Linked DNA regions of Homo sapiens: all the other regions are linked to region 1. Evidence: promoter capture Hi-C in 16 types of primary human blood cells and fetal thymus (Javierre and others, 2016). All regions are on one chromosome and are shown on one strand. The core of a region is centred on a gene start or on the middle of the fragment in contact, and the rest is flanking DNA. Distances in the headings are between cores, read along the strand shown.

Region 1 (7,580 bases), core at 3,492-5,991:
TGTGTGTCCTGCACCCAGAGCTAGGAGCAGACCAGCCCCGGTGTGGGGAAACTGAGGCCCAGAGGGCGGAAGGGGCTTCCTGTGGTCCCCCAGCCAAAGTTGGCAATAAAGTGGAGGCTTGGCCAGGTCTCCAGCCTCCTGCCCTGCTGCCCACCAGGCTCACCTGGTGATGTAGTTGCCCATGGAAGCCCAAAGAGGCACGATGGCCATGCCCAGGGCCACAGCCGAGGGCACAAGCGTGTAGTAGCGCTCCCAGTAGTTGGTGGAGACAAAGAGGGCGTAGATGCCCACAGCGAGGAACATCATCCACTTCGTTCCAAAAAACCTGCGGACAGTGGGAGAGATGCTGGCACCACAGGCCTGCTGGACCACTGTGGCCTGAAGCCAAACGGGGCCACAACCGCAGGTCCCAGCTCACAGGGCTTTGTGAGGTAGAGAGAGTCGAGGGCACTGAGATGGAATATCAGATACACAGACTTGCTGAGTGGCCTCAGGCAAGCTACTGTGCCTCAGTTTTCCCAGCTGTAATATGGGCACGGAGCCCAAACCACAGGCCTCTCATCACCACTGTGAGGATGGAGAGTGACCCATGGGTGTAACCAGCCCTCATGCGTGTTCTGGGCTCTCTGATTCTCCCATTCCCCCTTCTCCTCCCAAGCTCATGCACTGTGTCTGTAGGGCCCAGGGGCTTGACTCAGGCTGGGAGAAGAGAAAGGAAGAGGCCCCACTGCTGGGAGCAGCAGAGCCAGAGTCCCGGCACCCCTGCCTCCAGTCCATTGCTTTTATGAACCATGGTGGTCAGTCAGGAAGTTTCCACCTCTCTGGGTCTGGGAAAAGGTCACACAGTGACAATAGAAGGGGCTTGGTGAGTGACAGGATGAGGGCTCAACCACCCATGGAGGCTGATCAGGCCAAAAACCACTACTGGTATCTTCAAGTTTTCTGTATTTATGCTCCTTAAGTAAAAATGCCAGTAAAAATGTGCATTCACTGCTGGTGAGGATGTGGTTTGAAAGTGGCACATATAGGCCAGGCACAGTGGCTCACATCTGTAATTCCAGCACTTTAGGAGGTGGAGGTGGGCAGATCACCTGAGGTCAGAAGTTTGAGACCAGCCTGGCCAACATGGTGAAACCCCACCTCTACTAAAAATACAAAAATTAGCCGGGTGTGGTGGTGCACACCTGTAATCCCATCTACTTGGGAGGCTGAGGCAGGAGAATCGCTTGAACCCAGGAGGTGGAGGTTGCCGTGAGCTGAGATCGCGTCACCGCACTCCAGCCTGGGCAACAGCAAGATTGCTCAAAAAAAAAGTGGCACATATAGCCAGTGGTCACACACACTGGCATAACCCTTTGGGAAAGCAGCCTGGTAGTTTTGGCAGGGGGTGAACATGTGGATTTGAGTCCCTCTACTGGGGTTCAAGCCTTCAGTCTGCCAGTTACTGCCTGTGGGACCTGGGCAAGTTGTTTAACACCATGGTTTCTTCATGTCTAAGACTGGAGCAGCTTCCTCAAATTATTGGGAATGAAATTGCGCTTATAAAGTGCCCAGCACGGCCGGGCGTGGTGGCTCGTGCCTGTAATCCCAGCACTTTAGGAGGTGGAGGTGGGCAGATCACCTGAGGTCAGAAGTTTGAGACCAGCCTGGCCAACATGGTGAAACCCCGTCTTTACTAAAAATACAAAAAATTAGCTGAGCGTGGTGGCGGGCGCCTGTAATCCCAGCTACTCAGGAGGCTGAGGCAGGAAAATCGCTTGAACCTGGGAGGCAGAGGTTGGAGTGAGCCGAGATTGTGCCATTGCACTCCAGCCTGGTGATAGAGTGAGACTCCATTTCAAAAAAAAAGTAAAAATAAAAATAAATAAATAAAATAGAGTGTCGGGCAGACAGGAGACAAGAGTTCACTGCTATTAGTAGAAGTGATAGGTTTCAAAAGCCATAAAGCCTTTTGTATGGCTTGGACCTAGTAAAGACATTGTTGAAAATGTATCCTAGGAAAAATAATTGTTTAAAAAATTGGGGGAGTGCTGGATGTGGTGGCTCACACCTGTAATCCCAACACTTTGTGGGGCTGGGGCGGGTGAATTTGAGACTGGCCTGAGCAACATAGCAACTCCCCATCGCTACAAATACTTTAAAAATCAGCCAGATGTGATGGCGTGCGCCTGTAGGCCCAGCTACTCGGGAGGCTGAGGTGGGAGGATTGCTTGAGCCCAGTGTGTGGGGGTTGAGGAGGCAGTGAGCTGTGTTCGTGCCACTGCACTCTAACCTGGGTGACAGAGTGAGACTCTGTCTCAAATAATAATAATAATAAAATAAATAAACACATAATTTAAAAAAAAAAAACAAGGAAACAGATGTAAGCACAGAAGGAACTGCAGTGTCCAATTCCAAGCCACTGTTCAGTGCCACCGTATCTGCAGAAGATGCTACCATTGCAAAGTCGTAACTGTGAAGGCTGTAGAGTAGGCTAAGATATGCTCAGTGAAAAGAAGGAAGCAAGCTCTGGGCACTGTGGCTCATGCCTGTAATCCCAGCACTTTGGGAGGCCAAGGCAGGAGAATCACTTGAGGTCAGGAGTTTAAGACCAGCCTGGTCAACATAGTGAAACCCCATCTCTACTAAAAGTACAAAAATTAACCGGGTGGCAGGCGCCTGTAATCCCAGCTACTCAGGGTGCTGAAGTAGGAGAATCGCTTGAGCCTGGGAGGCAGAGGTTGCAGTGAGCCGAGATCACACCACTGCACTGCAGTCTAGGTGACAGAGCAAGTATCTGTCTCAAAAAAAAAAAAGTAAGCAAGCAAAAGCAAACATAGCCCGCTTGCATACACACACACACACACACACACACACACACACACACGGGCACGTCCACACACGTGCTCTGGGGACAAGGATGTGAATGTAATCCATGCATGCTGGTGGGACAGCATGGGTAGCCGATTTCCTGGAGGGCTTAGATGGGGTTTCTTTTTTATGATTTCAGTTATTCTAATCCTGCCTGTGCAACGGGAGATGTTTTAAATTTTCAAATTTTTGTTTAAATGGAGTTTTCTCTTGTTGTTTTGTTTGTTTGTTTGTTTTAAAGATGAGGGAGCTCAAATTCACCTAATTTGTCCACTGGTCTCCAGGTCCCATCAGGGAGGGCACTGTGGACCGGTGATGGGGAGGCTGAACCACATACCTCCAGGGCTCAGATCTGGGGGAGAGCTCTGGGGCACCTGCCCAGCCATGCCTGTCTGTGAGAAACACCCCCTCAGCACCAGTCACAGCGACTGGGCCAGGCATGGGTGCCTGGACTTTGCTGACCGATCAGAAACCCCTAACTCTACAGCCCCAACCCTGAAGGCCACAGTGGCTCTGGGAGGCCTCCAAGGAGGCCACGAGGAGGGTGCCACGTGAGGCCCAGGCAAGCTGGGAGGGAGCTCAGCCCGTGTGAATCTGTTGCTGGAAACCAAATGTGCCCTGAGGCAAAGTTCCTGTTTCCTTCCCCAAATCCGAGTTTCACCCCCTTCACTCTCAGGCTTCCGGGTAGAAAAAAACCTCTCCCTTGTTCCCTCGCCCCACAAACACCCCGGCAGATGGACACCTCCTGGCCCGCCGGCCTCTGTACCCCTCCGAAATGGGAGTACCGCAGCATCCCACAGGAGCAGCCGCGCCCACCTGATGAGCACAGGTGTGTAGAGCAGGGCGGCGATGGGAGTCACGTTGATGCCCATCAGCATTTTGCTGTCGATGTCGGGCAGCCCCATGTTGCCATACTTCACCTCGCGGTAGGTCTCGTCGTAGTGCAGGATCAGCTGCATCTGCAGGAGGCCTGGGGACAGGACAGAGAGCGGCGTGCAGGGAGCAGCCTAGCTTTGGGCGCCACCGAGCAGAAGACGGCATGCAGGCCTCGCAGGGAGCTCCAATCACCGAAGGCATTCCCGCTGACAGCGCCCCTCAGGACAGCGGGGTTCCCGGGCTGCGCCACGCCTTCTGCCAGCCCGCGGCCACTTGGCCAGCTAAGCCCAGACCCCCACCCGCCTTGCTCCGCCGGCCTCCAATTCTGACGGTGGCAGGTCTGTCCGGGAGCCCGGACCCCCGTCCCCCACCCACACCGAGGCTCTGGCTGGGACCCGGGGACGCTGCGCTACTTGACCCCCCAACCCCACCCCCGCCGCGGGGGGCCGTGGCTGCAGCTGCGAGGGCAGCGGAGGGGAAGTGAGAGCGGGCGGGAGGCGGCGGCCCGCGGTTTCTGTTTCCCGGGCCGGGCTGGGAGCGGGCGGGGCGGCCCCGGGTCCCCGAGCGGCACCTACCCAGGTAGACGCCGTAGGTGAGCATGCCCCCGGCGCTGGCAGCCAGCACGTTCTTGAGCACGCCCAGGCGCTTGCGGCGGTAGTAGCGGCGCTCCTCCTCCTCCTCGTTGTAGTTGGGGTACGCGCCCACCAGCTCGTCCAGCTGCGAGCCACGCACGCCGCTCGCACCCGCGATCGCGCCCCGAACCCGTGTCCCCCGGTGCCCGCCGCCCCCCGGCCCGCCCCGCCCCCGCCGGGGGGACCCTGGCCCACAGGGGACGCCCGCGCCTCGCACTCCGGGTCCCCGCTCACCGGGGCCTCGGGCCCGTCCGGGACCCCGAGCAGGTCCTCGTCGCCCTGCGGCCCCGCAGCCCCCGCCATCGGGTAGAGCGGCGGCTCCGCCTCCATGGCCCGAACTACTGCGGACTCGCGGCGGTCGCCCCGGAGTCCCTGCGACCGCCCGGCCACTTCCTCCCGGCGGCCGGGACCTGCCCCCGCCCCGCCCTGTCCCGCCCTGCGGGCCGCCTCCTCCAGGACACGTGTGTGTGTATGTGTGTGTGCGCGCGCGCGCGCGCGTGTGTGCAGGGGCCTGCCTGTGTGTGCCCTCTGGGGTGTGAGTTCGAATCCCCACTCAGCCACCTCCTGGCCCTGTGACTTTAGGAATTAACTCCATTTCTTTGTGCCTCGGTTTCCTCCGTTTCCTCGACGGTAAAACAGAAATACATGGCACTACCCCCGGGGCCATGGCGGAACTATTGAGTTAATGCAAAGCCTTGGAAAAGTGCCAGGGTTGCCTGGCTCCCTTAAGCTCCCCTCAGGGTTGCCTGGGTCGTCCCCAGCCCCACCTCCAAGCCTGCTGTTACAGCTCATCAAAGAGCACTGCAGGGACAGTAGCGTCACCACCTGGACCCCACCTCCCACCACCGGACGCTACAGCCAGAGCCCACCTCCCATGTCCCCATCCTGCTCCAGTTTGGGCTGTGCAAATGGGAGCTTGAGTGGGTCCTGGGAGGTGGAGATTGTGATCCCCACTGAACTACATGGGGGACCCTGCCACAACCATGTAGTGGGGCCCAGAGCCACCTGCCCCCATCCTGCTGGGCACTGGATCCCGGGCTGCAGCGGGAGCCTGTGGTGGGGCCGACACTCCAAAGCACTGGCTACCACCGACCTGGCTGGAGCCACGGGGCCACTTTTGAAAATATCCAGATTCTCTCCCCTGGGTTCCTTCTGGTTTGAATGCTCTTCCTGCTGCGCCTCCCAGGTGGCTTCCTTCCCACTCAGCTCTCAGAACAAGAGACCATCCCTGCAGAGAATGCAGTCCCTTCACTTCCCTTCTGGTTTTCCATGCCCTCCCTGTGCACCCCCCTCCACCCACTGCTCTTTAGGTACATCCTCTCCCAAATGCAGAGGATGGCATTGGGCACCTACTGAGTGATCAATACTTGTGACTGGATGGGTGCATGAGTGACTGGATGACAAACACCTCCCACCCCGCAAGGATTGCTGGGAAGGTGGGGGGAGGCGTGAATCTGCAGTGGCTTCAGGCTTCCAGGAGGTAGAACTTTCTCCAGGTGACGATGCCCAAGTGCAGATGTGGGGAACAGACAGGTGGATTCATGCAGGTGGGTGGCTGGAAGTGGGAGACAGGAAAGGAGCCGAAGAGAGGGCAGGGCCCGAGGCGCAGGGGCAGGGAGGAGGTGGGAGAGTATGGCTATGGCGGGGGCCGTTCTCAGATGGCAGACACCAGCATCATTACACAGTATGATGAGAAAGTGCAATTCTCCTGACTCAGCCTTGTGAGTAGCTGGAATTACAGGCGTGTGCCCCTACACCCAGCTGATTTTTGTATTTTTAGTAGAGATGGGGTTTCACCATATTGGCCCAGGCTGGTCTCGAACTCCTGACCTCAAGTGATGTACCCGCCTTAGCCCCCAAAGTGCTGGGAGTGGGCCCCCCGAGCTTCTCAATTTCCCTGAGGGACCCCAAACTTCTGGGGCCTGGTGCAATCTCTTCCTCCCCTTGTTCCTCTGGGCCTGGGGGTTGTGGCGGTTGCTATGGTTGCCCATCCTGGGCTCTTCCATCACCTGTGCTGTACCACCAATTCCCTGCACTCAATGTCTCCTACTCAAAACACCTGGAGAGGGTCGGGCGCTGTGGCTCACGCCTGCAATCCCAGCACTTTGGCTGGCCAAGGAGGATCACTTGAGCTCAGGAGTTCAAGACCAGCCTCAACAAAGTGAGACAAACCCCCCCCCCCAACCCATCTCTACAAAAAATACAAAAACTAGCCTGGTGTGATGGTGGACACCTGTAGCCCCAGCTACTCAGGAGGCTGAGGTGGGAGAATTGCTTGAGCCCAGGAGGATGAGGCTGCAGTGAGCTGAGATTGTGCCACTGCATTCCAGCGTGGGTGACAGAGTGAGACCTCTCAAACAAACAAACAAACAAAAAACAAAAAAAACAAAAAACAGCCCTGGAGGCACTAAACCCTGACTGATACACCTCCTCTCTCCAGAAAGGATTTTTTTTTTTAGGTGGTTTATGGAGCTGCTCTTGGGGAGCCTGGAGACTATCTAAGAGGCTGATAGGGTGGCCCAGATAAACACACCAGGGTGACCTGCGGGACAGAGATCTGAGCAGGGCCAGCACCTCCACCAACCCATCCAGGTTGCAACAGTGCACAGTCACATCCCCAGGAAGGGGTGGCCAGATCCCCCCGTGCTCACTGTTTGCCAATGCTTTTCTCTATAATAAGCCTTTACTTTCAGTTCTCATTATGAAAATAATCGATGTTCCTTGCAGAAAAGCAAGCAGAAGAGAATAAATATTGCTCTCAACTGGAACTCCCTGAAACAACCTCTTGGAATATTGTTGCCCCGCATTGCACTGACACAGGAGCGTGCTGGGCAGCCCACGTGATTCCCTTCACACCACTTCCCTGGCATGGATGTGATTCCACAATATTTTAAACATTAAAGCCAATGGGGATGATGATCACTGAGTCTGGCTCACAGGATGGTGGGAGGTCCCCAGGTTGGGGTGTGCCAAAGGCTCTGCCCAGTGCCTGGCACAGCAAATGCCCAGGTGGCTGCTGCTTTCCACTGAGACTTGAGGCTCCTGAGAGTTGGTGGCAAAGGGCTCACCCAGAGCTGAAGACTCCAGCCCATTCCTGTGCGAGGGCTCCAGGCACCTTGGAAGCACCGTGGGCCGGGGAGCCAGGCCAGGCTGGTTGTGGATCCCCATGAGTCCTTGTCACTGTGTGGCCCAGCTGGAAAGCATGGTCAATAATGTCTGGGA
Region 2 (7,580 bases), core at 3,002-5,501, 230 kb after region 1:
GGGGGCCATTTTGAATGGTGAAATCACCAACAAGAAGCACAAAACTGTGAAAAACATGACACTAAATAGACTGTGAAAAGGACACTTGTTTACGGGTCGGAGAGCTGAAACAGGGAGATGAGTGCTGACTGCTTCACCTCAGCGGGTGACTTTAGTCTCTGGAGACATCAATTTTTCACCACTCTGTGTATGCACCGGCTTTCAAATACCCACAGAAAGGCCCAAGTATTGATTTTGGGGTTACAAATAAATTTAGCTAGAGGTGAACCCACAAATACAGAATCCAAGAATAATGAAGATGATTTGAATCGTGAGGTTATGTTAGAAACACCCCACCTCTGCACCCCTGAGTACTTCAGTGTATATTTCCAAAATGGTTGTTCTCTTACATAATCACTTTTGTAGTTGTCAGAATCTGGAAACTCACCAGCAATACAATACTATAATTTGATACATGCTTTTCCCCCAGTCCAGCAGCCAGTCCAAGATCACAGGATGTGTTTAGTTGTCCTGTCTTTTGGTGCCTCAGTCTTGCTTTGCTTTTTGTGGTCTTGACTTGCAGAATGTCCTTCTGTGTGTGTTATCTGATGTTTCCTTGTGAGTAGATTCAAGTTGTGCGTTTGTGGCAAGAATATCCAGGGGTGATGTCTTCTCAGTGCATAAGGAGAGATGTACTGCTGTTATTTTGCTATTTGTCCTCTGTTTGCTTCCTAGCTTTTCTGGACCTCATTTCCTGCATTACAAGCTTTTTGGTGTGTTTGGTTTTTTTTTTTAATAGAAAAATGTTTGAATTTCTTCTCATTTTCTTCTGTGTATATTCTACAGCTATTTTCTTTGTTATTACAATGGGTATTACATTTAACATCTGTATTAGTCCATTCTCATGCTGCTAACAAAGACATACCCGAGACTGGGTAATTTATAAAGGAAAGAGGCTTAATTGACTCACACTTCACCATGGCTGGGGAGGCCTCAGGAAACTTACAGTCATGGGTGGAAGGGGAAGCAAACATGTCCTTCTTCACATGCCAACAGTAAGGAGAAGTGCTGAGCAAAAGGGGGAAAGTCCCCTTATAAAACCATCAGATCTCATGAGAACTCACTCACTATCATGAGAACAGCAACTTTGAGGTAATGACCCCCATGATTCAATTACTTTCCACCAGGCCCCTCCCATGACAAATGGGGATTGTAGGAACTACAATTCAAGATGATATTTGGGTGGGGACACAGCCAAACCATATCAACATCCTAAAGTTATAACACTCTGGTTTGAATTTATACCAGGTCAACTTCAGTATCGTATAAAAACTCTGCTCTTTTTACAGCTCCATCTCTTTTTCTTATGGTTGTTGATGTCATAAAATTATATCTTTAAACATTCTATGCCCCAAAACATAAACTGACAATGATTTTTAAAAAGTTAGTGTCTTAAATTATACAGCAAACAAAATGTGTAGTTACAAACCAGTTACAGTAATACTAGCGTTGGATTAGTTCTTGGTTTAACTAATCAATTAATTAATTTATTATTATACTGACTTTTAATTTATTTTATTTACTTATTTATTTATTTTGAGATGGAGTCTGTCTCACTCTTGTCACCCAGGCTGGAGTGCAGTGGCCCGATCTTGGCTCACAGAAACCTCCGCCTCCCAGGTTCAAGCGATTTTCCTGCCTTAGCCTCCCAAGTAGCTGGGATTACAGGCACCCACCACCATGCCTGGCTAATTTTTGTATTTTTAGTAGAGACAGGATTTTACCATGTTGGCCAGGCTGGTCTTGAACTCCTGACCTCAGATGATCTGCCTGCCTCGGCCTCCAAAAGTGCTGAGATTACAGATGTGAGCCACTGCACCCGGCCGATACTGATTGTTTTTTAAAGTGTAATAGTCTCTTAAATTCTGCAGAAAACCAAAAGTAGTTTTACAACCTACTGTTACAATAGTACTAGCTTTTATAATTGCACATATATTTGCCTCTATTGAGATCTTTACTTCTTCATACAGTTTCATGTTACTATCTAGTGTCCTTTCGTTTCACCTTCAGGACTCCCTTAAGCATATCTTGCAGAGCAGGTTTACTGGTTATGAACTTCTTGAGTTTTCTTCTTCGCTTTTTTTTTCTTTTTCTTTCTTCTTTTTGTTCAGAGACAGGGCCTCACTCTGTCACCCAGGATGGAGTACAGTAGCATGATCACAGTTCACTGCAACCTCAACCTCCTGGGCTCAAGCAATCCTCCTCCCTCAGCCTCCTGAGTAGCTAGGATTACAAACATGCATCACAACGCCTGACCTTTGATTTTGTAGAGATAGGGTCTCACTATGTTGCCCAGGCTGGTCTCAAAATCCTGGACTCAAGTGATCTTCCTGCCTTGTCCTCCAAAGTATTGGGATTATAGGTATGAGCTATTGTACCTGGCCCCTTTGGCTTTTCTTATATTTTTCTTTTATCTTCTTAAAAATATTATTTATGGGTTGGGTATGGTGGCTCATGCCTGTAATCCTAACACTCTGAGAGGCCAAAGTGGGCAGATTGCTTGAGCCCAGGAGTTGGAGACCACCCTGGACAACATGGAGAAACCCCACTCTACAAAAAAGAAAAAAAAAATTAGCTGGGCTTGGTGCATGTCTGTAGTCCCAGCTGTAGTCCTCAGGAGGCTGAGATGGGAGGATCACTTGAGCCCAGGAGGCTGAGGCTGTAGTGAGCTGTGATCATGCCGCTCCACTACAACCTGGGCGACACAGCAAGACCTTGTCTCAAAAAATTTTATATTATTGATTCCTTTCTTTTACAAACCCTTATCTTGAGGGCTGACTTTAAATAGATCACAGTGAGGGAGATACTCTGCTATGTACAAAATCCTGACCCAGAAGCAGGTTGTCTATGAATGGTTTAGTACCAGGTTCTCCGTGAATGTGCACTCCATGATGGGCCAGCGGGGACAGCCCATTTCTGGCCATACCCCATTTCACGGGTTGAGGAGTTCTCTGTACTGGACTCCGGTCCTGGCACCAGATGAGGCACTGGCAGCACGGTAAAGGACCAGCTATCTGAGGCCAACCAAGGCTCTGCAGTGCTATCATATCATTCTGCCTTCTGCCTGGGCGGAGTTTTGATTTAGAGGCATTCAGTCATAATCTCACGGATGGAAGCTTTGCTGCATTGGCTTTTCAGCCAAGCACATATTCTTCACTTTTGAAAGACAGTTTTATCCAATATAGGATTCTTGGTTGACAGGTTTTTTGTTTTTGTTTTTGTTTGTTTATTTTTTATTTTTTTGAGACCGAGTCTCACTCTGTCTCCAGGCTGGAGTGCAATGACATGATCTCAGCTCACTGCAACCTCTGCCTCCTGGGTTCAAGCGATTCTCCTGCCTCAGCCTCCTGGGTAGCTGGGATTACAGGTGCACACCACCAAGCCCTGCTAATTTTTGTATTTTTAGTAGATGGCATTTTGCCATGTTGGCCGGGATGGTCTCAATCTCTTGACCTCGTGATCTGCCCTCCTCAGCCTCCCAAAGTGCTGGGATTACAGGCGTGAGTCACCATGCCCGGCTGTTTTTTTTTTTCTTTTAATAGTTTGAAAATGTCTTGGGAGGCCGAGGCAGGCAGATCACAAGGTCAGGAGATTGAGACCATCCTGGCTAACATGGTGAAACCCCATCTCTACTAAAGATACAAAAATTTAGCCAGGCGTGGTAATGGGCGCCTGTATTCCCAGCTACTCAGAAGGCTGAGGCAGGAGAATGGCATGAACCTGGGAGGTGGAGCTTGCAGTGAGCCGAGATCAAGCCATTGCACTCCAGCCTGGGCGACAGAGCGAGACTCTGTCTCAAAAAAAAAGAAAGAACAAAAAAGAAAATGTCAGCCCACTGTCTTCTGGCCTGAAAAATTTCTAATGAGAAATCTGTTGAAAATCTTATTTAAGATCTTGGTATGTCACATGTCTCTTCTCTCTTGCTACTTTCAGCATTCTCTCTTTGTCTTTCAAAAGTTTAATTATTATTAATTATTATTATTATTATTATTTTGAGAAGGAGTTTTGCTCTTGTTGCCCAGGCTGGAGTGCAATGGTGGAATCTCGACTCACTGCAACCTCCACCTCCCAGGTTCAAGCAATTCTCCTGCCTCTGCCTCCTGAGTAGCTGGAATTACAGGCATGCTCCACCATGCCCGGCTAATTTTTTATTTTTAGTAGAGACAGAGTTTCTCCATGTTGGTCAGGCTAGTCTCAAACTCCTGACCTCAGGTGATCCACCTGCCTTGGCCTCCCAAAATGCTGGGATTACAGGCATGAGCCGCCGCACCTGGCCTCAAAAGTTTAATTGTAACGTGTCTTGGTGTGACTCCTTCTCTCTCTTAATTTTAATATTTAATTTAATTTTATTTATTTATTTATTTATTTTTGAGACAGAGTCTTTTTGTGTCACCCAGGCTGGAGTGCAGTGGCGTGATCTTGGCTCACTGCAACCTCCACCTACTGGGTTCAAGCGATTCTCCTACCTCAGTCTCCTGAGTAGCTGGGACTGTGGGCGCGTGCCACCACACCTGGCTAATTTTTGTACTTTTAGTAAAGATGGGGTTTCGCCATGTTGTCCAAGCTGGTCGCGAACTCCTGACCTCAGGTGATCCACCCGCCTCGGCGTCCCAGAGTGCTGGGATTACAGGTGTGAGCCACTGTGCCCAGCCAATTGAATTTAATTTTTGAGACAGGGTCTTACTCTGTCACCTAGGCTGGAGTGCAGTGGCACAATCATAGCTCACTGTAGCTTTGACCTCCTGGGCTCAAGCAATCCTCTCACCTCAGCTTCCCAAGTAGCTGGGACTATAGGTGTGTGCCATCTACATCTGACTAATTATTTTATTTTTTGTAGAAACAAGGTCTCACTATGTTGCCCAAGCTGGTCTCAAACTCTTCAGCTCAAGTGATTCTTCTTCTGCCTCACCCTCCCAAAGGCATGAGCCACTGATTCTCTCTCTCTCTCTCTCTCTTTGGAAACAGAGTCTCACTTTATCACCCAGGCTGGGGTGCAGTGGTGTGATCATAGCTCACTGTAGCCTTGAACTCCTGGGCTCAAGTGATCCTCCCACCTCAGCCTCCCAAGTAGCTAGCTAGGACTACAGGTATGCACCACAATGCACAGTTAATTTGTTTGTTTGTTTGTTTGTTTGTTTGTTTATATGTTTGTTTGTTAGAGACAGGGTTTTGCCATATTGCCCAGGCTTGTCTCAAACTCCTGGGCTCAAGCCAACCTCCTGCTTCGTCCTCCCAGAGCACTGGGATTATAGGCATGAGCCACTGCATTTGGTTGGATCTCTTTGAATTCATCTTACATGAAGTTCATTAAGCTTCTTGCATGTTTCTTTTCATCTCTTTCATCAAATTTCGGATATTTATGGACATTAATTTTTCAAATATTCTCCCTGCTTCTTTCTCTTCTCTTTCTGTGACTCCCACAGTGCCTATGTTGGTCTACTTGATGGTATCCCAAGGTCCCTTAAGCTCTGTTCATTTTTCTTCAGTCTTTTTTTTTTCTTTCTTTCTGTTCTTTAGACTTGATCATTTCCATTACCCTATCTTCAAGTTCACTGATTCTTTCTTCTGCCTGCTTAAACCTGCCTTTGAATCTGCCCTCTACTTATTTTTCATTTCAGTTGTACTTTTCAGCTCTGGAAATTTTTTTGGTTTCTTTTAGATTTTATTTTTACTGATATTTCCATTTCGTTCACACATCATTCTCTTGACTTACTCCATACCCTCCTGTAGTTTTCTGAGCATCTTTAAGACAGTTGCTTTAAAGCCTTTTTCTAGTACACCTGCCATAAGCTCTTTTTCAGGGACAGTTTCTGTTTATTTGTGGTTTTCTTTAACCTTCGAATAGGCTATATTTTTCTGTTTCTTTGTATGCCTTTTGATGTTTTGTTGAGCATTGGACAATTGAATTTCATAATTGTAACTGGAAATCATATTCTCCCCCTTATCCAGGGTTTACTGGTTTTTGTTACTATTTTTGTTTTTTGTTTATTTGATTGATTGTTGTAGCCTATCTCTGTGTCAAGAATCAGCCTGGAATGTAAACTTAAGGTCTTCTCAGGTATTTTCTGAGCCTTGGGTACGTGTGGTCACTTACTCATTTTCCTCATATATGCAGTTTTAAAAAAATGTTCCAGGCCAGGCGCAGTGGCTCACGCCTGTAAACCCAGCACTTTGGGAGGCCGAGGCGGGCGGATCATGAGGTCAGGAGATCGAGACCATCCTGGCCAACATGGTGAAACCCTGTCTCTACTAAAAATACAAAAATAAAATTTGCTGGGCATGGTGGCGCGCGCCTGTAGTCCCAGCTACTCCAGAGCCTGAGGCAGGAGAATTGCTTGAACCTGGGAGGTGGAGGTTGCAGTGAGCCGAGATCGCACCAATGCACTCCAGCCTGGCGATAGAGTGAGACTCCATCTAAAAAGTAAAAAATAAATAAATAAAGTTTTAAAAGTTCTAGTGTTTAATGTCTGGCTCCCAAAGGGAAATAAAAAGAAAAATGAAGGTGGAAGGAAAGTGCATCAGCCCTTTAAATGCCCCAGAAGTGACTTCAGCCAGAGGGGGAGGAGCTTGCAACAACTGGAGGAGATGCAGCAACAGTGGCCACCTGCGCCTCTGTGATTAGGAGCACCGCTGTGGGCCAGGCACGGTGGCTCACGCCTGTAATCCCAGCACTACGGAAGGCTGAGGTGGGTGGATCACTTGAGGTCCGGAGTTTGAGACTAGCCTGGCCAACATGGCGAAATCCCATCTCTACTAAAAATACAAAAACTAGCTGGGCGTGGTGGTGCACGCCGGTAGTCCCAGCTACTCAGGAGGCTGAGGCAGGAGAATCGCTTGAACCCGGGAGGTGGAGGTTGCAGTGAGCCGAGATCACACCACTGCACTCCAGCCTGGGCGACAGAGTAAGACTCCCTCTCAAAAAGAAAAAAAAGGAAGCACCTCTGAGATCAGAAGCAGCACTCAGCAGTGAGAGCACAGATCCCTGGTATTTGGAGGACAGGACTCTTTTTGCCCACGCCGGCTCCTGCAAGCTGTGTGCAGGTTGCTCCAGGAACACATGCACAGCTGCGTGCCATAGGGCTGGGGGTCAGGGATGGGTAGTAGCCATTGTGGGAAGAGCTAAAATGGACTGAAATTTACTGTAATTTACCAGTCCAAGCCTTCCCCCTGGAAGCCACAAGTCTTCAATACACTGCAGAGTTCTAAAATAGTTACACCAGACAGATTCTGCCATGCAATTGTTGTCTAGGTGGGGAGACAGATTCCTGGTGCTTCCTACCATGCTATCTTCCCAGATTCCTCTCTGAATAGGTGACTTATAAATTTTTTTTTCCAGTCAGTGTCTTATCATTTCATTTTCTTAACAGTGTCTTTTACAGAGCAAAAATTTTGGTGAAAACATTTTGATGAGGTCTATTTCATCAATTTTTTCCTTTAGAGACCATGATTCTGGTGTCATAGTTGTATTCTTTTCCTAAAAGCCTCCACCTCCCGAGTTCAAGCTATTCTCCTGCCTCAGCCTCTGAGTACCTGGGATTACA
Region 3 (7,580 bases), core at 1,568-4,067, 200 kb after region 1:
ATACTTCCTGACCTCTTCAAATCCTCTCCTTTCTCAAAATGTCCATGGTGTGTAAGGGGGTGAGAGAAGCTCCTGCACAGACAGAAACAAGGCAGGAATCACAGCTGCTACCACCACTAACTTCCCTACTGCTTGCCATTATACTTTCTGGTTTACTCCCTAGTCCTTGACCCTCCAGAGAAAAAGAACCAGGACCAGGAAAAGTGCTTTTGGTCCTTTAGGAAATCATCTGTAGAATGCCTGTGTTTAACACACAACTTATGGATAATCATGGAACAATGTACTTTTAGGCTTCTCAGGAGTCCTAATATACCTCAAAAATAAGACATAAAGCATAATTATATGAAATAGAAATAAAATATATGGAATAGAAAGGTTATCCATGGAGAGTCTTTTTTTTTTTCTTTTTTTGAGACGGAGTCTCGCACTGTCCCCAAGTTAGAGTGCAGTGGCCCAAACTCGGCTCACTACAACCTCTGCTTCCTGGGTTCAAGCGATTCTCCTGACTCAGCCTCCCGAGTAGCTAGGACTACAGGTGCGCACCACCACACCTGGCTAATTTTTTTTTGCTATTTTAGTAGACACGGGGTTTCACCATGTTGGCCAGGATAGTCTCGATCTCCTGACCTCATGATCTGCCTGTCTCGGCCTCCCAAAGTGCTGGAATTACAGGCGTGAGCCACCACGCCCGGCCATGGAAAGTCTTTAAGTCCCAACCAAGATGTCTACTTGAGAGAAAGCAGAAAATTTGGGGATGAGGCCCAGCAATCTGTGTTGTAGTAAGACCTCCAGGTGATGCAAGCTCCAGTGTAAGAGCAATCGCTCTAATTTACTTATTCATTTTATCATGTTAGGGCAAAGAATAGATACAAAATTTTAAGAAAAATTATGGAATAAAAAATTAAGGAAATTATAATATCAACCAAACATTTTTCTGAGAATTAGGAAAATTCACCAACAAATCACTTTAGTAATAGCAAACTTTGGTTCAATTCATGGAACACAGACTGAGATCCACTCTAATGTGCACATAATTTAAATTAAATGTGGGTTAATGATCCAAACTGGAAAAAATCTGTGCCCTCAGATCTCATTTATATTGTGATCAACTGATATTATTTGAACTCAAGGTAATTTAATCTAACAGGTACTTCTGTCAATCACAGAACATGGCTAAATTTCACTAGTATGAATGCACTGCACATGTCTGGATGTAGCCTAGCAGAGAGAGATTCTCCACAGGTCCATATGATAAAAGCTATCAAAAGATCTTTCTTAAACTGATAAATGAAACATTTGTAAAAACAATTCTAATGAAGCTATCAATAATTTGGGGGCTATTTAAAAAAATTTTCAGCTCAAAATGAATATATATTGTACTAATGATCAGGTCATCATTTGTTCTGCCCTCCTAAGTGTGGAATCTGTTCTTGCTGGCATGATCTTTCCTCTAAGACCACACGTTTACACATTAAAGGTAGCGATGGGATTTTAAAAAGCTAACACAAGTCGATACTGTAGTAGAGTATAGACAAATAGGGGTTGAAAACATCCCAGCACTTTGGGAGGCCAAGGCGGGCAGATCACCTGAGGTCAGGAGTTCGAGACCAGCCTGGACAACAAGGTGAAACCCCATCCCTGCTAAAAATACAAAAATTAGCCAGGCGTGGTGTCACATGCCTGTAATCCCAGCTACTTGGGAGGCTGAGGCAGGAGAATAGCTTCAACCCAGGAGGCAGAGGTTGCACTGAGCCAAGATTGTGCCACTGCACTCCATCCAGCCTGGGCGACACAGCAAGACTGTGAAAAGAAAAGAAGAGAAAAGAAGAGGAAAGAAGATGAAGGAAAGGAAAGGAAAAAAGACAAGACAAGACAAGACAAGACAAGACAAGACAAGACAAGACAAGACAAGACAAGACAGGGCGGCTAGCAAAGCCTAAATGCTTCATAGCTACCACAGAGGTGCCCCCTCCCAACAAACACACAAGGGTGCAGACTCCCATGGGACATAGCTGGCTCACGTGGAAATGTCCCCATGGTCACGGTTTGGCTGACACACTCTGAGCTAATTAGCCACTGACTACATTTAGAAGTAAAAATTGCCTCAATTTTGTCCCAAATTGTTAGGAAAAACATTTCAAGAAAGTACTGACTGCTTCTTTTTTTTTTGAGACGGAGTCTCGCTCTGTTGCCCAGGCTGGAGTGCAGTGGCACGATCTTGGCTCACTGCAACCTCCGCTTCCCGGGTTCAAGCCATTCTCCTGCCTCAACCTCCTGAGTAGCTGGAACTGCAGATGCACGCCATCACACCCGGCTGATTTTTTGTATTTCTAGTAAAGATGGGGTTTCACCGTGTTAGCCAGGCTGGTCTCAATCTCCTGACCTTGTGATCTGCCCGCCTTGGCCTCCCATAGTGCTGGGATTACAGGCGTGAGCCACCACGCCCGGCCATTACTGACCACTTCTTAAATGGTGTATTAGCTTGGTGCAAAAGTAATAAAGTAATTGCGTTGTTTTTTTTTTAGTTACAAATCCTGTTCTGATTTCCCAATATAAAAATGTCAGGAAAATTAGACATCCACTATATTCCAGACACTGTTGCAGGCACTGAGAATACAGCATGGAACAAAATAAGGCTTCTGCCCTCATCTGTGCTTATATTCTAATGGAAAAAAGCACTAGGAAATAATAAATTAACGAATGAATGTCGGCACCTTTTGGGGGGAATAAGCCATTTATGGTGGCAGGGAGTGTTTCAGGTGGAGAAGGAGGGTGATAGTGGCTGTTTTCTAAGACAGCAAGGGATGTGAAGGGACAGCCAGGCATCAGGCAAGAAGCATGCAGTAGACAAAGGGAAGGGCAAACACAAGGCCCAGAGGCTGGCGTGGCTGGGGCAAATATGGAGGAAGAGTGGGAGGATGAGGTCAGAGAGGCTGCCACAGGGAAGAAGGGCTTCAAAGCCACTGCTGAGACTTGGGCCTTTACTCCCAGTGAGAGGGAAAGCAGAGGAGTGACACGATCCAACCCACAGTTTTAAAGGACCATGCTGGCAGCTTGCTACATGGTACTTTAAAAAAGCAGTTCTAATGAAGCTACTAATAATTTCTAGGACAAGAGAATGCAGGGAGACGTTATTAGTAGTAGTAGTCTATTTACTAACTGACTACTGCTAGCCAGAGGAGAACTAGTGGCTGCAGCAGCAGAGGTGGCAAGAAGTGGTTGGCTTCGAGATCTTTTCTGAAGGTTCCGCTGATAGTCGGGAACTGCTGACAGATTGAATGCAGGTGTAGGAGAAAGAGGACTCAAAAATACCTGCAAATGAAGAATGGAATTAATATTTAGGGATGTGACAAAGACTATAGGAAGATTGGCTTCCGCAAGGACTGCGGTGTGGGAATTTGGTTTTGGTCATTTTTTCTTCCTTTTTGGGGGTCTTTTTTGGTTTTAGTCACTTTTGAGATGCCCACTACAGATCCAACTGGAGTTGGCAGCTGGATACCAGGGTCTGGAGTCCAGCTCCAAGCTGAAGATAAAAATCTGGTATTTTTATCTTCAAATAAAATCAAAGTATTAATGGCATTTCAAGCCATGGAATCAGATGAAATCTAGGACTCAGTGCAGATCAATGAAGTCCAAGGACTGGGTGTCGGGGGCACTTTAACATGTATAGGTCAAGAGGAGGAGAAGCAGCACAGGATCACAAAAGGAGCAACAAGTGAGAAGCAGAGCCAGGCATGACAGGGACCACTCTGTGGAGGGAGTTACCAACTCAGGCAAGGACTATAGGTGCCCAGTAAGCAAATACTTTTATTTTATGAGTCTAAACTCGTGGAAAGGATGGGCTATTGCTGATCTGTGAGCCTTGCTCAGAAACAACAGAGAACTTCTAAATGGACACAATGTCTTAAAACACGCACTTGTGAGGAAGACGGGGCTTTGCTTTAAGAAACAGATGGCAGAGGGCAATATCAGGAACGAGAGAGAGAGAGACTGACTCGCAGGCCAGAAAAGACAAATGTAAGTTAAAATTATGGAGTGGGAGGTGATGGGAATAGGTTAGTTAATTTGAGAAGGCAAGCCTTCAGAGCGCTTATAGGATCTGTGTTAAAAAAATTTTTTTAAACTAATAGATTGGTTAAATCTCTGGATGGGAGTAATACAGATGATCTGAGTAGGAAAACGAAGTGGAATTCCTGAGGACTACTGTGCAAGGCTTTGTGCCTTCTACTTTCGTGAGTATTCACAGAAATGATGCAATCAGGCTCTGAGAAAATGGAATTGGGATTCTGCTCCAAGATGGGCAGCATCACTTCCCCAAGGGATTTACCCAGCACTGAAATCAACAGGAAGAGTCACCTTATGTGGTTTCACTGGATCAACACATGGGAAAAGAAGCACTTACTACAGATTCTGGTACCAAACATAAATAAGGAGGTGGGGGGTGAGGGGACAATTTATGATCAAGATAAAACATACTGGAAAACTGCTAAAATAAGAAATGTATTTAAAGGGGAAAAGATTTCAAGAATGATTTCCAGTTGTATTTAAAGCGGAAACTCCTAATCATAACACGATGCCACTAAGGTGAGAAGCGCGACACCCACCACCACCAGCACCACCACAATGCATTCCAAATCACCAGTGCTACCGTTGCTGGGGGGAAGGATAACTTTCAAAAGTATTTTTTCCCCAAACGTTTACAGTGAACCTATTTACTTATAATCAGAAAAAAACTGAAAACCTTAATACTTTAACACATTTCAAAAGAAAGCAGCATTGATTCATAGAAAATGGGCTACGTTCACATAACCATGCCTGTTCTATGCCAGTGATGGCCCCTCAACAAATGTCAATGCCCTTCTCTTTCCAGGCTCTTTATGAGATTATAAATTGTTGAGTGACTTTTGAGAAATTGTGTCCAATTTGAGAACTCTGATTCCAATCCATTTTTACTTAAACACAGGCATTTTTTGCTTAATATCCTAAAAACAAACTAAGATTAAAAAAAAAATCTGTCAAAAAAGTTAAAACACTGATTCTGAATGACTAGAAAGAATGTTAACGTAATTCCTGTGACATTACCGAGAACCCTCTAGCCAGTTGACATGCTGAACTTGTCTGCAAACAGTTTATCTTAGAGAAATTATCCAGTGGCAGGGAAACAATCCCCAAGTGGTTGAAAAAGAAAAGTCAATACACATTTTTAAAAAGTAGGTTCTGGCTGGGTGTGGTGGCTCACGCCTGTAATCCCAACACTTAGGGAGGCCGAAGCAGGTGGATTCCTTGAGCCCAGGAGTTCAAGACCAGCCTGGGCAACATGGTCAGACCCCAGTCTCTACCAAAAAAAAAAAAAAAAAAAAATTAGTCGGGTGTGGTGGTGCGTGCTTGTAGTCCCAGGTACTCAGGAGGCTGAGGTGGGAGGATGGCTTGAGTCCAGGAGATTGCACCACTGCACTCTAGCCTAGGTGATAGAGCAAGACTCTGTCTCAAAGAAATAATAAAAAGCAGGTTCTAGCCTGTTAGAGGACTTTCATAAATCTTTATTTAGAAAGGCAAAGAAAACATTTTTCAAGTGATTTAGTTATAATTTGGTAAGAAAACAATCCAGTACACCACTGGTTAACAGTGAGTGAGATTACAATGGAGAATGACATCACAAGCAATATTTACCTGCTACATGTTCAACTTTTCAAAATAAACATCTGTGACTTTTGTAACAAAATATTAAAGATACTTACACAAAGGAAAGGGAAACAGCTTGGCAGCTTCCCACCACAGGGCCTTTGCACTTGGGGTGCCGCCACACTGCTCCTCAGTCCCTGCCCAACCCCACTTCTCCAGCTATATAGATTTCCTTGTTATACATTTTAACCCTTAACGTTTCTCAGCATGGTGCTTATTACAACCATACTCACTACTCTGTGTAATTATCTGGTAACACCTGCCTTCCCTACTAGCTAAGACACACTTTTTTTTTTTTTTTTTTTTGAGACAAACTCTCACTCTGTTGCCCAGGCTGGAGTGCAGTGGCTCAATCTCAGCTCACTGCAACCCCTGCCTCCCGGGTTCAAGCGATTCTCCTGCCTCAGCCTCCTGAGTAGCTGGGATTACAGGCGCGCACCACTATGCCCGGCTAATTTTTGTATTTTTAGTAGACACGGGGTTTCACCATGTTGGTTGGGCTGGTCTTGAACTCTTGACCTCGTGATTTGCCCACCTCGGCCTCCCAAAGTACTGGGATTACAGGCGTAAGCCACTGCACCTGGCTTTATTTCCATGTTTTGGCCGAATAATCCTGCTGTGAACGTGGGTGTACAAAATACCTGTTTGAGTACCCGCTTTAATTCTTTTGACGATATACCCAGAAGTAGAATTGCCGGGTCATATGGTAATTCTATGCTAAACTTTTTCTTTTTAGATGGAGTCTTGCTCTGTCACCCAGGCTGTAGTGCAGTGGCACGATCTCAGCTCACTGCAACCTCCGCCTCCTGGGTTCCAGGGATTCTCCTGCCTCAGCCTCCTGAGTAGCTGGGATTACAGGTGTGTGCCATCACACCCAGCTAATTTTTGTATTTTTAGGAGAGACGAGGTTTCACCATGTTGGTCAGGCTGGTCTCGAACTCCTGACCTCGTGATCTGCCTGCCTCGGCCTCCCAAAGTGCTGGGATTACAGGCGTGAGGCACCGCACCCGGCCCCATACACTTTCATATCATTAGAATCCAGCACAAGACCAGACATAGGTCCATTCATATCACCTTCCCTTTCTATTCTCAAACCAACTGCTACACATAAGCAGAATCGGTTTTTAGTTTTCTCCTAAATGTGAAATCACAAAAGGACTTGACATCAAAGAATTCCAAATCGGTCTTTATCAATGGCTATTCCAAAGCCGTCTGCAATCAATATTGCAATAACTAAGGCTCCACGGAATCCTATGGTATCAATCCCAGCGATGAGGCCAATAAAAGAAGCCCTGCAAAGCTATCAGAAGCATTTGTGACCAATATTCCATCATAACACCATTAACACTGCTTGACAGGGCAATTTCTCAGTTGCTAATTTGTTAGAAAACTACCACGAATTCACGTTCATACCTGTAACCTTAAAACTTGCTCCTATAAACATTGTTGTCTCACCTGAGAAGCTAGGTGACTTGTCAGAGTAGTTCAACGGGGTGTTAGTATTATGAAAAGAGAAAGGCCTCAGGGTTTTCATTTCCCTGAATTCACAATTATGCTTCTACCTAAGGCAGAGCCTTTACTTTAAAATTAGAGCTGTCACGCTAATTCAAATGGTAATCAGGTATCTAGAACCATCAACTCCATAGCAAAGAATACGTCTCTATACTCCTAAAATAATTACAAATGTCCATGATATTATCATTCCTACTTTCCTTCTCTAGCTTTCATAGGGTCAAGCTTGGATGCATTTTGCTTCACCCAATTCAACAGCTTTCCCAAGTACCCTCAGGTGGTAATGCCCTCACTCAGGCCACCAAGAGAATAGCGTCTGAAGCTGAGCAGTTTACCTACCACCAAGGTAGAATGCTTCACCCACTGCCCTTTCAGAATAAAACGAT
Region 4 (7,580 bases), core at 1,413-3,912, 170 kb after region 1:
TGTATTTTTAGTAGAGATGGGGTTTCACCATGTTGGCCAGGCTGGTCTTGAACTCCTGACCTCAAGTGATCTGCCTGCCTCGGCCTCCCAAAGTGCTGGGATTATAGGCGTGAGCCAATGCCCCCCACCAACTCTACTATTTTTATTGAAGCTGGCATATATACATATATATATATCTGTATGTATGTATTTTTAAGCAACTAATGCTTTAGGGAGGTTTCCACCCATAAAACTAGGATCATTAAAACTTTAGCCCCAACCTTTCTTCTAGGCCAGTAGAAGACTGACTGTGGAAGCCAGGTTATCTAATCACGGTATCCACAACTCTTCAGCAATCATATCACTGAACAGGCATCCAGAGTCAATAAAGGAAAATGAAAAGCAATTTGGCCTAGAGATGGGATCTGGTTCAACTGAGACTTCCGATTTCCCCACTCTGACTCCAGCTGATGGGCCAAGGCAACGGCGATGCATTGGCTACTTCAGGGTAAACTCTGGCTTCATTCCTTACCATGAATTTCTCAGCACTTCAACAATAATTTAGAAGAGAACTTTAAATTAAATTAAAGGCTTATACTAGTAGAATAGTTACCACTCTTTTGTTGCAACTATTTTGGCTCCATTTTGTTCTGATGAGTATCTATTACATGGCAATATTTCAAATCCACTGTCAGTTGCAAACATTCGCAAATAAATAAATACCTAAAACAGGAAAAAAAAATTGATAATGACTTTAAATGGTATACCCTGCTAGACTTTCTTACAATTATAAAAGCAAACCACCCGCAATGATGAAAAAAATGTAAGATCTAGCCTGAGCAACATAGCGAGACCCTGTCTCTACGAAAAACATTAGCCAAGCATGATGGCATGTACCTTTAGTGCCAGCTACGTGGGAGGCTGAGAGGAAGAATCACTTGAGCCCAAGAGATGGAAGCTGCAGTGAGCCATAATCAGGCCACTGCACTCCAGCCTGGGTGACAGAGCAAGATTCTGCCTCTAAAAAAACAATAAAATAAACAAAAAAAGTAAGATCATTAGGTAACAAACTTTATTGTTACTCAAGAGTTTTGAATGTCACAATTTTTCTCATTTTGCAATATTTGCATTACAGTAACTAGCTGAACACCTCTAAACAAAAAATTCAAAATCCTCCCATGAGCATTTCCTTTGAGTGTCAGGTCGGTGTTCAAAAAGTTTCAGATTTTGGAGCATTTCAAATTTTGGGGTTAAGGGTACTCACTCTGTATGAGTACCTAATGGCTTGTTTCCCTTAAGGCTCATAATGAATTTCACCTCTATATGACAAAGTTTTCTCTCCTTTTTTGGTTTTAGAGACAGGGTCTTGCTCTGTCTCCCAGGGCTGGAGCGCAGTGGCATGATCATAGCTCAGAGCAGCCTCTAACTCTTGGGCACAAGCAATGCTTCTGGCTCTGCTTCCTGAGTAGCCGGAACTACAAACTACAAAGGTACACACTACTATGCCTAGCTAATTTTTTTATTCTTATTTTTTTAGAGATGGAGTCTTGCTATGTTGCCCAGGCTGGTCTCGAAGTCCTGGCCTCAAGCAATACTCCCATCTTAGCCCCCACAAAGTGCTGGGATTACAAGCATGAGCCACTGAGCCTGGCCCAGTTTTTTCTCTGGACTGTCATCCAAATGACTGTATGTGTTACAAGATCTTCAGACTGATTAGTTTTATGAAAAATAAATTTAAAATTTCAGTATTAACTAACATTTAGGGTTTTAATTTACTTCACTATTCTTATCCAAATAGGTTAACAGCATCAGTCTTAATAAACTTACATGTTCTTTGAATAATTTCTCCTGCATTTTATTCTTGTTGAGAAAATAGTGCCGTGCCCATTCGCCTGAAGTCAAACATTTGAAGGCTTTCTCCAAGTGTTCATCTTTCTTAAAACGTTCAATTACTTCCTTTAGTTCTTCCTGCCTTCCTTTAATAGGCCTAAATCTGAAAGAAATCAAAAGAATGAATGGGTTATCTGCCACAATCCTTGCGCCACTGATCCATCTTAACAGATCTTGAGAAAGAGCTAATACCCTAAAAACAGCCATGGTTATCAGAGCAAAGATCTAAGAGAAGAGAACAACAATCAATAGTCTTGATTACTACTATTCAAGTAATACTGATCACCTGGATACGCAAGTTCTCTTTTTTCAATCTGTTATTTTAATATTTTTATTTCACTGTTATCTCAGTAACTTCTCTTTTTTCAATCTGTTATTTTAATTATTTTTATTTCACTGTTATCTCATTAACTGTGAGGTGAGCAGACGATTCAAACAAAAGCTGTCTGATTCAGACTTACACTAGTCGTCAACTTTGGGAGACACAAAATCAAAGCTCTAGAATACAGCACACCTAATTTAGAGTTAGAATGACAAGAATCTTTTTAAAACATGCAAAATCAAGCTGGAAGAGTGCCAGGCAATGAATTTCAGAAGTATGATGATGTAAACAAAACCATGCCATACACAAAAACATTCTTTATGTACACAGTCAGAAAAAACCCCAAACTAAGTATTCCAACAGGCTTCGAAACACACCTTGATGTTCTAACCACCCATGTCAAAGTCATCTTTGATGACTGCATTCAGAGAACAAAACGAGTACAAGCAGTGTTAACTCTAGTGGTGAAATTGCTATACTGGTAATGTAGGAAAACTGATGGGGTAGAGTTGTTTTTTTTTTTTTTTTTTGAGATGGAGTCTCACTCTGTGGCCCAGGCTGGAGTGCAGTGGTGTGATCTTGGCTCACTGCAACCTCTGCCTCCCGGGTTCAAGTGATTCTCTTGCCTCAGCCTCCCATGTAGCTGGGATGACAGGCGTGCGCCACCATGCCCAGCTAATTTTTGTATTTTTAGTAGAGACCATGTTGGCCAGGCTGGTCTTGAACTCCTAACCTCAAGTGGTCTGCCCACCTTGGCCTCCCAAAGTGCTGGGATTATAGGTGTGAGCCACTGCGCCTGGCCTGCAGGGGTAGAATTGAAAAGGCTTCCATTGTAGAATCAGCCACACTGATGTCTTCAGAATATTATCCCATTAGGTCTGTATTTATGCATGATGCAGTCATGGCCCAAGCAAGACAAATTTGTGAACCCCTCATTCTAAAGCTGTGTTTTCAGTAAAACGTGTACTATAAAGTTACTAGCATCTTAATTTCAAATTTTCTTTTCATGTCAATTTCATAAAGCTAATTCTCCCAAATAAAGTTTTTATTTTAAAAAAAAGTTTTATTTTATTTTCATAAAGCTAATTCTAACCGGATTATGGCCCGGTATGGTGGCTCTCACCTATAATCCCAGCACTTTGGGAGGTCGAGGCGGATGGATCACGAGGTCAGGAGATCGAGACCATCCTGGCCAACCTGGTGAAACCCCGTCTCTAAAATGCAAAAAATTAGCCAGGCCCACGTAGTGGTACACGCCTGTAGTCCTAGGTACTCAGGAGGCTGAGGCAGGGGAATTGCTTGAACTCGAGAGTTGAAGTTGGAGTGAGCCAAGATCGCGTCACTGCACTTCAGCCTGGTGACAGAGCAAGACTCTGTATCAAAAAAACAAAACAAAACGTCCAACAGAAAAAAGGAATCACCGATTGCCATTCAAATAAAATACATTAAGAAAAAATATTAGTGGTTCAGGAGAAAAAAATCTTTATGTGTCTTACTCTGACATTTAAAATTGTACATTTCATAAACCTGAATATGCTAAAATTGAGGTAAGATCTAGCACAAACTCCAGCAAAGGAAGCATTCAGCAGAATTTTTTTTCCTAGAGAAGCTATCATATATGTATTCATAGTATTTCAGTAAGATTTCAAGCCACAGTATTTCATCAAGGATTATTAGGTGCTGTGTTGTGTATACAGTGGCATATGAAGTGCTATGGTGAAAAATACAAGAGAAGACATGGCCACTGTTCTTGAATGGAAAATTTAATTGGGACTAAAAGACATATATATGCATCAAACAGTTAAGCAAGTGATCAATATGCAAATGCATGTTAATATGCTAAAAACTGCATTGCTATAGCACCTAAAAGTATAGAAATTATAACTAGGGTGCAAAATGTACATGGGAAAGGTTTAAGAAAAGCACATTATAAGCAGGTAAGAATCAAAAGGAAGGAAGAATGAGGGGAAGTCTAAGCAGAAGATCTTAATCAAGCTGGATTCAAAGAGTTGACCAGGGTCAGCTAGGTAGCAATAATAAAGTAAAGTACCAGAATCAGGAAGAGGAAAGACATGAGGTCCTGAACAGGTATAATACTGTTTACTGGACAGGATCACTGGAAGACTTCAGGTGTATTAATGCATACTGATACTACCAGGAACTTACTAGCTACACACTCTAGTCATTTTTTTTTTAATTCAGTAATCCTGAATTCTCACAACTATTAGCTGAACCATCTGAAAGTTCAAACATATCCTAGAGATAATACTGAAGAAATGAACAGGGCCCTATTTTCCATTTTCAATCAATTGGTATACAAGCCTTTACAGACAGATAAATGCAAGTCCTTTAAACAATTCAGAACGTCTTACTAGTCTGTCGACATATGGTGTCAGAGAACCACCATGAAAATAAAGAGCTGTAGAATTGGGAAAGCATCCAAATATCCATACTCAACTACTTGTAGCCATCACAATTGATTGTGTCAAGATACCATCTCCAAGAAATCCAATGGAAACCATTCTTGCTGCAATCCTACACTACATGGTTATTTGCACATGAAGGACAGATAAGACAACAAAGCAGCTCTCAGCTAAGGCATGACCTGTCGAGCAATATGAAATATGAAATATGAAATGGTGGGAAACAGATAACCCGTGCTTTGTGTGGCAATCAGAAAAGCAATAGTTCACTTTAAGCAAATGCAATAAATTATCCATGCCGTTAAATGACAGGGCTACAAACGACAGAAAGGGCCAAGCTATCTTTACACGTTCAATGTGAAAGTGACCAATGGGAACATTATACAAAAGTAAGTTATAGACCTGGAATGAAACTTGGCTATTTTTAATAGGCTTTATGTGTGTTCTATGCTTTCTGAAACAAGTTCATTCCTATCTAAAAATGCCTTCAGGTAACCTTGGTTTTGTTTACTTTTTATTCATAATGCCAAACAATTTACATGCTAAAACCAACACAAAATAGTCAACTCTTGATTTAGTAGTATTCTGCCTACCTTCCCTGTGTTGACTTCTGTTTCTGCTTTCCTGACTTTATTGCCTCAAACATAAATAAAACCCCTGAAACTATCCCTTGCTACCAATAGCAAGAACCTCTATTTCACTAAAAATATAAGTTGCTGTCCCAAACCTGTTAAAACTTACTGTCACAGTTGGCTGCTATGGGCATGAAATGACAGTAAGGAAAAGGGGGAAGAAAATGGTTAAGGGTGCAGACAGGCAGGAGATGAGACAGTTGTTTTCAATAATCCTACAGAAGTATGTAAAAGTCAGCTGGCTGATAGTCCAAATCAAATCCCATTGTAACAAATACTGTGGAAAATAAAAGTTAAGACTGTTATACCTATTAGGGCTGGTGCAAATGCACTGAAAACCTTAGGGAAATTTTTTTTTTTCCTATTATTGAACAGAAAAATACCCTCTCTCCTTAACTATAATCACTCTAAATCTCCCATACAAACTGCATAAAACTATCCTTTTACTCTGACACTTAAAGGCCAGATAATTTAGAACAGCCCTTTTGTTCCACAAATGAGGAAAATAAGGCCCAACAAGGCTGAGTAGATTGCCAATGACTTAGGGTTAATGAATGGAAGACCTGGGATTTACCCTGGCCTTTCTGGTTCCTGTTATATCACCTGGCTCAGGAGAGCCTTCCTCACATTGTTTCATGGTTAGAAGAGGATTTGACTTGCGTTTGCCATTGAACATCAGCACTGGGCCCAGCCAGAGACAGCTCTAGCTTGTATACTGACAATACAGTGGAAGGGATGGACGCAAATGTGAATTTTAAAATTTCGTATTTGGGTGGGGGGGTGGGTGACAAGGGAGGCAAGAAAAACAGTTATTTGGCATTTCCAAACCAATATGCCCCGTCCTCCCTCCCTTAATAGAAAATTTGCTACTTTAAATCAACCAAACATATCTATTTTTTCTCTTTTTACACTTCCAATCAATGGCTGGTATAAGAAAAATAAAAATGTCATTTACAATTGATTATTATTAAAGGGGCAGGAAAAAAACATATGAATTCACACTCCCACACACCTGTTCCCCACTCTTTCCAGAGACTCACTTCCCAGGTTTTCTTGCTATTTGGTTTTTCTGTCTCCCCACTGTGGCAGTGAAGAAAAGTTGTAGACTGTATTAGCTGTGCTACTGTGCCCTTCATTAGCATGCACAATCAAGAGCTGACTGGAGGGGTGGGGAACAGGAAGGGGAACAGAAAAAAGGGAGACAGGGAAGGAGAGAGGAAGAGAGAAAAATGCTCAAATATTTAAGATATAAAATAAAACCATGAGGCAACATAGTGAACACATTTCCCCCTCTGAAGAAAGTTTAGCTGCAAATCCACAGTTTGTAGACGCTGAGTGAGGAGTCGCAGATCAGCTCTTCAGTCCTTCTTGACCTGAAAATAAACGAGAACCAAAAACATACCTGGCTGAGTCCTGCAATCAGTGCTCAGCTAATCACATGGAGTGACTCCTGATCTTTTGAAGAATGATTTGTTTCTCTTAAAATCACCCTGTTATGAAGTACAAGTGGTTTTTTAAAAAATACAACTATTATCAAACTACTTTAAAAGGTTTGTAAAATGTTCTAAAACTCTAATTTATGCTGACACTTCAAATTACTTAACATAAAAGAACATTTTAAAAGGCTAGAATGGGTTAGTCAGTATCTCATTGTTTTTAACACACACTACCTACCTCACAGGGTTGTTGTGAGAAAAACTGTCAGATTTTGAAAAATGCCTTGAGCTCCTCGAAGGAAAGGCGCTATATAAATGCAAAAACAAACAACAAAAATAAAAAGCTATTTGTATAATCTGTACTTGTAATTTCTAAACAGACTTACAATATTCGTTGTTGCAAAAATCTTTAAAACTCTGTGATAATCAAGAACTTTAAGATACCACAGGTGGGCGCGGCAGGATAGAAGCCATGCTGCTGAAATTCTCTGCTTCCCATAGAACACACCTTACCATGAAGTTAGAAGCTTTGAAAACATTCTTTACGGATTCTAGTCAAGCACTTAATTTTAAAATGATATTTAAAGTGATTCATATTCATATCCAATAGTGGATATGAATAATCAAATACATATAAAAGTGAAATAAAAATTAGATGGTTATAACAGTAGAAAAATGAGTAAGGACTGTACAGGCTGACATTCTGATTAGAAAACCAAGAAAAGTTGAAAAGAGAAACTCAGTGCCCTGAAGTGACTCCCCTGATGTTTAAATGCTGTCTCCTGCTCAGCTCACTGCTGGCCTGAGTCGCCTTCGCGCCTCAGGATACTGTGACATCTCAGGGTCATGCAGCCTCAAAAAGGGGGCATTACTGAAAGCATCGATCCCTTTCTTAAAA

Evidence for each region. The method cuts DNA at HindIII sites, captures the fragments that hold promoters and counts their contacts. A CHiCAGO score of 5 or more calls a contact.
Region 2: a contact is called between a fragment that was not itself captured here and the fragment with the promoter of UNC93B1 in region 1, in 1 of 17 cell types (total B cells). The highest score is 5.0, in total B cells.
Region 3: a fragment that was not itself captured here is called in contact with the fragment with the promoter of UNC93B1 in region 1 in 4 of 17 cell types (naive B cells, total B cells, neutrophils and 1 more); the score reaches 10.5 in naive B cells.
Region 4: a contact is called between a fragment that was not itself captured here and the fragment with the promoter of UNC93B1 in region 1, in 1 of 17 cell types (total B cells). The highest score is 5.5, in total B cells.

What each region holds. Positions count from the first base shown.
Region 1 is chr11:67,999,356-68,006,935 of GRCh38, forward strand. UNC93B1 (unc-93B1 regulator of TLR signaling) reads right to left here and starts at 4,742. Exons shown (of 11, transcript NM_030930.4): 1 at 4,593-4,742; 2 at 4,302-4,443; 3 at 3,667-3,820; 4 at 164-325. The coding sequence starts at 4,688. RefSeq lists enhancers at 3,295-3,494, 3,595-3,644, 3,745-3,794, 4,699-5,242, 5,243-5,785 and silencers at 4,095-4,504, 4,565-4,864. The HindIII fragment of the contact is 17,319 bases long and covers 1-7,580 here.
Region 2 is chr11:68,228,783-68,236,362 of GRCh38, forward strand. No RefSeq gene overlaps it. Among named protein-coding and RNA genes, the nearest start is that of KMT5B, 19 kb to the left of the region's middle. The HindIII fragment of the contact is 2,196 bases long and covers 3,154-5,349 here.
Region 3 is chr11:68,196,579-68,204,158 of GRCh38, forward strand. All of the region lies in intron 1 of KMT5B (lysine methyltransferase 5B), which reads right to left. Among named protein-coding and RNA genes, the nearest start is that of KMT5B, 13 kb to the right of the region's middle. The HindIII fragment of the contact is 9,199 bases long and covers 1-7,417 here.
Region 4 is chr11:68,173,212-68,180,791 of GRCh38, forward strand. KMT5B (lysine methyltransferase 5B) reads right to left here. Exons shown (of 11, transcript NM_017635.5): 4 at 6,921-6,989; 5 at 1,807-1,972; 6 at 593-702. Among named protein-coding and RNA genes, the nearest start is that of KMT5B, 36 kb to the right of the region's middle. The HindIII fragment of the contact is 9,089 bases long and covers 1-7,207 here.